Regions from separate parts of the Homo sapiens genome. Here region 1 is linked to region 2. Evidence: promoter capture Hi-C in human tissues and cell types (Jung and others, 2019). All regions are on one chromosome and are shown on one strand. Each heading gives the region's core, a stretch centred on a gene start or on the middle of the fragment in contact. The rest is flanking DNA. Distances are from core to core; before and after follow the strand shown.

What was found. The method cuts DNA at HindIII sites, captures the fragments that hold promoters and counts their contacts. A contact is called where the count stands out against the background at its distance.
Region 1: a fragment that was not itself captured here is called in contact with the fragment with the promoter of TMEM97 in region 2 in 1 of the 25 tissues and cell types used here (IMR-90 fibroblasts).

What each region holds. Positions count from the first base shown.
Region 1 is chr17:28,050,395-28,054,118 of GRCh38, reverse strand. The region is part of intron 1 of NLK (nemo like kinase); the gene reads right to left. Among named protein-coding and RNA genes, the nearest start is that of NLK, 9.6 kb to the right of the region's middle. The HindIII fragment of the contact is 6,343 bases long and covers 1-3,724 here.
Region 2 is chr17:28,317,796-28,321,221 of GRCh38, reverse strand. It overlaps TMEM97 (transmembrane protein 97), which reads right to left and starts at 2,022. Exons shown (of 3, transcript NM_014573.3): 1 at 1,857-2,022. The coding sequence starts at 1,982. RefSeq lists enhancers at 1,899-1,958, 2,439-2,698, 2,918-3,426. The HindIII fragment of the contact is 5,118 bases long and covers 1-2,300 here.

The DNA.
Region 1 (3,724 bases), core at 635-3,134, 270 kb after region 2:
TTTAATAAAGCTCAAATTTCCTCCGCATCTGTATTACTAAATTTCCAGCTCTATTGAAGTAAATATAGAAATCAAGTTTCCTATTTTAAAAAATTAGAAAAGAGAGGGAAGTGGAGAAGAAAGTGGGGAAAAACCCTCTGCACCAGGCTGCATGTTAATTTAGATGTGCAATGAGACAATCACCTGATAATTGTACCCTTTGGGTACTTTTGTACTGGTAAGATAATACAGTGAAATAAAGTCACCTGGCTTATTTCAATTAACTTACACAATTTGCAAATCTGCAACTCTCTGCCATGGTACATTAAGAAAATTAGCATGTAAGAAAAATCACCTGCTTATGTAAATTGACGGATCATTTTTATCCATGCAGACAGGAAGAAAAGCTGCAATCTGGGTCAAATGACTAATTTTATCTATTTGTTCAAATGTCTCTTTTCACCTTTTTTCTGTAGCTCAGAGCAAGAATTTTAGGTCAAAGAATGGATAAACAAAAAGTTTCTGTGTTGTCCATTCCCCTGTAAGAAGTCTGCTGCCTGACACTACTGAGCTCTATACTACTTAAATTGAAAACAAGACTGAGAACCTTATCCAGATAACAAAACCACAATACGGAGAGGATAAAAAGAGAAATCAATAGGAGATATCTGCTCTAACTGGGAAGGAAAGCAAACATGGCAACGATCAGGTACCAAATTTACCTTCTGCTACTTTAGGCAAACAAAGCTTCAGAAAAGAAAAGGAAAAATGCCTCCAAATAACTCAGGACAGACAGGACTTCTCTATAGAGATCATTATTCCAGTTTGTTCCATAAATATACCCACTCAAGTTCTTCTGAGTCTGACACAAGTCAGACAAATGCAGTATCTTGGTCATTAATGACTGCATTCCTGGCATTTACTGCTGGTATTCATCCCTCCCATTTAAAACTGACTCCATCTCCAGGTCCAGAAGTGGATCTGATTGCTCCAAAAGTAATCTTACCTTCATTGACAGTGACTGGTTCAGAAATGAGTATGTAATCCAACAAAAGCCAAAGAGAGGCCAGGTGCGGTGGCTCAGGCCTGTAATCCCAGCACTTTGGGAGGTCAAGGTGGGCAAACTGCTTGAGCCCAGGAGTTTGAGACTAGCCTGGGCAACAAAGTGAGACCCCATCTCCACAAAAAAATAAAAAAAATAGCCAGGTGTGGTGACAGAGCAAGACTGTCTCAAAAAAAAAAAAAAAAAAACACCAGAGATCAATATGCTGGTGCTGGTCAGTAGCCATGTGTGGCTACAGAACACTTAAAATGTGGTTAGACCAAACTGAGACATATTCTAAGCATGAAGATACATAGTGATTTTGCAGACTCAGTATGAAAAAAAAGTAATATAGATCATTAATAATTTTTATAGTGAATACATGTTGAAATGACAATATTTTGGATATAGAGTTAAAATACATTACTAAAATTAATGTCACCTGTTTCTTTTCAGTTTTTTACTGTGGCTACTAGAAAATTTAAGATTGCATACTTTCACTATGTATTTACTGGATAGCACTGCTGGTTTGCTGAGGGTGTCTGCAAAAATGCTCCCTTCCTCTTGGACAAGAGCTTTAGGAAGTCACTCTCCCTCTTTGGGCACTGTAAGCCCTAAACTACTACAGCCTGAAAGCTGTGTCAAAGCTCATTTTCTGGGAGGCCCACATGCAAACTAGTAACTCTCTTATCCAAATTCAGAATTTAAAAGAGACTCCTGGAAAGAAATTTGTTTTAAAGAAACTTGCAAATTAATGTAAGCACTGGCTCCCAAATCATCTTACCTGATTACTCACACACAAAAGATGACAAAATACTGAACATTAAATTTTATTTAAAAATTTAAAAATCACTCAAAATATTGTAAGAAAACTATTGTAAGACTTATAAGAAACTAAGCAAGTTTTTAAAGTCTAAAACACTAAAAAGGTAAATATTATCAGGAAAATAGTAGTATCAAATGGACATGTAGAAGAAATTGCTCATTTGCAAACAGGCCTGCTCTTCTCCACAGCTGAACTACATGTATAATCCTTACCAATAACTCAGTAATAGAAGAAAACAAGTCTCTTGATGAAAAAAAAATGAACATTTAAAATCTAATCCCAAATTAGAAAACTCTATAAAAGTCACCACTCTGGAACAGGGTGACATTTATCTCATTCCTCCTTTAAACAATTTTAGAAGCTATTCAACACTGTAGTCCTGAAGAGAGAAAGTTGTCTTGTGGTCACCAGCAAACTCCAACAAATATTAATATCATTTTATAATAGAATCTTAGGAAACACAGGATTTTATAAATGAGAAAACCAAGGCTCAGAAAGTTTAAATAACTTTACCAAGGTCACAGGGTTGTTGGCAGCAAGGCTAGGACCAGAACCTTGTCTCCTAACAAGTTTAGTTTAGTAATCTATTACCCCATTGTTTAAAAAAAAAAAAAAAGCCGGGCGCAGTGGCTCACAACTGTAATCCCAGCACTTTGGGAGGCCGAGGCAGGCCGATCACGAGGTCAAGAGATCGAGACCATCCTGGCCAACATGGTGAAACCCCGTCTCTACTAAAAATACAAAAATTAGGCGGGTGTGGTGCCACGTGCCTGTAATCCCAGCTACTCGGGAGGCTGAGGCAGGAGAATCCCTTGAACCTGGGAGGTGGAGGCTGCATGAGCCAAGATCATGCCACTGCACTCCAGCCTGGTGACAGCGGAAGACTCTGTCTCAAAAAAAAAAAAAAATCCTTCCCAAGGAAATGGCACCTTGAACATCAAGTTCTCTGGTTTATTAAACTAAAAACAAACAAACAAACAAACAAACAAACAAATGAGATTTGGAAGAATTGTATTAATAATTTTAAAAAATTGTAAAAAGTAATACTGAATACTTAAGACATTCTTTAGAATCAATCAAACACAATCACTCTCTCAAATGCCATCAATGATCTATTTACTATCAGGCTAAATACAATGGCCTTTTGGCCTTTTCTCCATCTTAATTTTCTGACTTTTTTTTTTTTTTTTTTGAGACAGGTTCTGACTCTGTCGCCCGGGCTGGAGTGCAGTGGTGTGATATCAGCTCACTGCAACCTCAGACTCCTGAGTAGCTGGGACTACAGGTGCGTGCCACCACACCAGGCTAATTTTTTTTTTCTGTACTTTTAGTGGAGATGAGATTTCACTATGTTGTCCAGGCTGGTCTCGAACTCTTGGGCTGAAGTGATATGCCCACCTCAGCTACCCAAAGTGCTGGGTTTACAGGTGTGAACCACCATGGCCGGCCTTCTTTGACTTTTTATCAGCACCAAAGATCACTCCCATTTTCCTAACAATCTTCTGCCATACTTAGATTGTCAATCATTGTGAACACATTTTCCTAACTGCCCTTTAGTTCTGCTTCCAGTAGCTTCTTCCACCTACAACTGAGAACATTCCCTAAGACTCAGACAGATCTCAGTTCTCTCTACTCTTCTATTTTACATATCCAAAAAAAAAAATTAAATCTGACGAAGTCTCTCTTACTTAAAAACTTTCAGTAGTTGCCATTCGCAGTTTTAACCTTTTCTCATCATTGCCCGCCTACGGAGCCTTTTTAGGCTATTTTCCTAATCATCCCCTCGTAAAATCTTAATACCACAGATATGCTATTTAACTGTTTATGTGCTATATGTCCACATATGCTTTATTAATAAAAAGCTGTTTTTAGTGCCT
Region 2 (3,426 bases), core at 773-3,272:
GGCAGCCTGTCTGAGTATTGCTGGCCACACAGGTTTCAAAAACCACAGATAGGCCAACACTGTAGTAGATTTTCCTTTCTTCAGGGCAATTAATGGTTACTGCAGAGCTGCGATGACCTCTTCGGTCTTTGGGAAGAGTCTGTACTCTCTGGCCCTGTAGTAGGCTGAATAATGGCCCCCAAAGATAACCACATCCTAATCCCTGGAACCTGTGACTATTACTTTATTTGGCAAAAGGGACTTTGCAGATGTAATTAAGGATTTTGAAATGGGAGATTTTCTGGGTTATCTGGTGGGCCCTGAATGTATGACAAGTGTCTTTATAAAAGCGAAGCAGAGGGAACTCTGACTACAGAAAGGGAGGCAATGTGATGACCCGAAGCAGAGATTGAAGTGACGTGAACACAAGCCAAGGAACATTGGCAGCCACCAGAAAATGGAAGAGGCAAGAACCAGATTCTCCCCTGGAGCCCTCAGAAGGAGTGAGCCCTGCCTTGATTTGAGCACTGTAAGATTTCATTGTGAACTTCTGGCCTCCAGAACTGTAAACAAATAAATCTGTTAAATCACTACATTTGTGGTAACTACAACAGCAATATGAAAACTAACCCACCCTGTATATGTTTGAGCTTATAATTTAACTCAACTCTCTCAACAGTTGAGGAGGATATAGAGCCCTGACCTGCCCAAGTCACCTCCAGTTCTTGGAAGAACCAAGTCCCCAGACTGCAACTTGCTACACGCTACCTACGCTTTTCCCATGCAAAAGGAGGTCAGAGGTCTTCCAGTTGTGTTTGGTTCTAGAAGCAAACAAAAAAGAGTGACTTATGGGAGTGGTAGAACATTCTTGAGCCGTGGCCTTTTTGGGAGAGTTAGGCCCCTTGAAAAGTCGATGGAAGCTATATTCTCCTTGCAGGAAACAAAAGGCACACACACTTGCACCCATTTTTGGGAGTTCATGACCCTCAGGTAAAGAACCCCTCCTCGGCAGATAAAAAGCATTTAAGGAAAAACAGACGCAAAATAAAATCTTCGGGTAGACAAGTCAGTCCTGCCTACAGTTATAGATAAGATGGAGAAACAAAACTGAGGACAGGAATTCCATGGAAGAAGGTCACAGGGTCCAGATACGAGAAAAAAACCTCAACGAACCGGGAAACTAAAACTATAGCTTTGAAGAAAAAAACAAAGCATTAAAGCAGAGTTTGGGGTTGAAAGAATGCTCTCCAACAACCAGGAAATCGGGATTTTCACCTTTATTTTTACTCAGGAGATCATTGTTACTCGAACCCAATATTGAAGAGCCAATCTGAAAAGATGGCAATTTACTCCTGAGCTCTGGAAGTTGCTGGAACCTGATCTCGAAGCAGTGACGATCTGTGAACGCCCCAGCTGCACCAACCAAGGTGCTAAACCTTCAGACAGGTCTATTTCTACTCGGATTTTTTCTTTGGGATCAGACTGGTATTTTAAAGCCCTTCCAAACAAACAAACAAAAAACCAGAAGCTTAAAGCAAACCTAACATGTGACTTTGGACACCACTTCATCCAGACTACTTCCCTCAGACACTGACAACCGGCCAGAGGTGGAATCGCGGGAAACCTTAAACCCAGGGAAGAAGTGACTTTAAAGGAAACAAAGCGTTCGCCCCCGCCGCTTGGGAGAAGGGGCTGGGATAGAGACAAAGCCCGAGGAAAACACCGAACTAAAGTTGGGTTAGGAGCGGGGGAGGCATGGGCAGGACCCGAGAGAGGCAACTGGAACCCAGAGTGCGCGAGCGCGGAGGAGGTGAAGGCCCTGTGGACGCAGCGCCGGGAGAGCCTCAGCGGGCCGGGATAAGAGGGGCGCCCCTCACCTCGACTGGGTAGAGCTCGCGCGGCAGCACCGCCTGCAGGTCCATGAACAGGGTGATGGGGATGTGGCTGAGGAAGTAGAGGCCCAGCAGCCACTCCACGCAGCGCCTGGTTGCCGGAGCCCCCATAGTCTGTCGGTTGGGCCTGGACCCGCTGATGTGAGAAGAGGGGCCAAATCCGCGCGCCTTCCCAGACCCACGCGCCTCGGTCGCCGCCTTGCCCCCGCGAGGGCTAGGCAGACCGCTTCCATTGGCTGGCGAGAAGAGGAGGCTCGTGGACAGGGGGCGGCACTCCCCACAGGGCGCACCCATTGGTCCGTATAAGTATAGCGCGTGGAGAAGGCGTCTCGTAAGCCATTTCCATTGGCCGCCAGGAGCGCCGTGTGGGCGGGGCTTAGTCACGCCGTTCGGCGCGCGGCTACTCAGTGTAGATTGCGGTTGTGAGCGCGAGCCTAGCGTTTCGGTGCTGGCCGCGTGGTATCCTGGTGTCCCGGCAGCTGCCGGCGGCGCTCCCTTCCCTCGTGGCTCCGTTCGCCACTACAACAGCAGTATGAAAACTGCACTGGCCCTTGGGCCTTCTGCAGTAAGTCAGCATTAAAAAAATAAAGCTGACGCTGTGCACGGTGGGTCATGCCTGTAATGTCTGCACTTTGGGAGCCCGAGGCAGGAGGATGGCTTGAGCCCAGAAGACCAGCCTGGGTAACTTAGTAAGACATTATCTCTACAAAAAATAAAAAATTAGCCAGGTGTGGTGGTGTGCACCTGTAGTCCTAGCTAGTTCGTGTACTAGTGACCAGCGCCTGTGCTGGGCCGCGGTACCCCGGTGCAGTGCGGCCGTCACGGAGCAGGGGTCGCAGAGCGGGGCACGAGCGCCGCGGTGCAGGTTCCCGGCCCAGCCGGGGTTGCGGGTCTGGGGAGGCAGCTGGCCGCGGTGAACAAAGAAGCAGAGGGGAGGACTCGAGGGACGTAGGAGGCAGTAAAATGGACAGGAATCCTCACCGGCTGTGGAGCATGAGGGAAGGTCAAGGATTCGTTTACACGTTCAGCAAATACTGATGTTCATCTCCACGCTGGGCGCAGGCCTGTCTCGGGGCAGGATCGCCGAGGCTGCCATTTGCTAAGAGGGGACACAGGGCAAGGGAGTGCGAGGAAGGAATGCAGCTTGGACTACGTGGACCTTGAGTGGGCTGCAGCGTTGGGTGGAGGAGGCAGTTGGGTGAGCCTGTCTGGAGTCGTAAGCTTGTGAGGCATCCGCCTTTGATGGCGAGCAGAGGGCCTGGGAGAGATCCTGGGGGAGCTCCAGCCTCAGGTCATGGGAGGAGGGGACTGAGATAGGAGCGTACTAGCAGGGGGCTATGTCACAGGGAGGGGCAGCCTGTCAACACTGAGTGATGCCCGCCTGTGGCCCTGTGGGGAACAGTTGTGTCGTGGGGGCAGGAGCCAGGGAGTAAGAAAGTGGGGAAATGGAGGCAGGAAGTGTAGACAGCTGGTCACGAAGGGGAGAAGACATGGGGCAGTAGCTGGAGAGAGATGCACTCGAGAGTTTATTTTGCAGGTGAGAAAGACTTGAGCT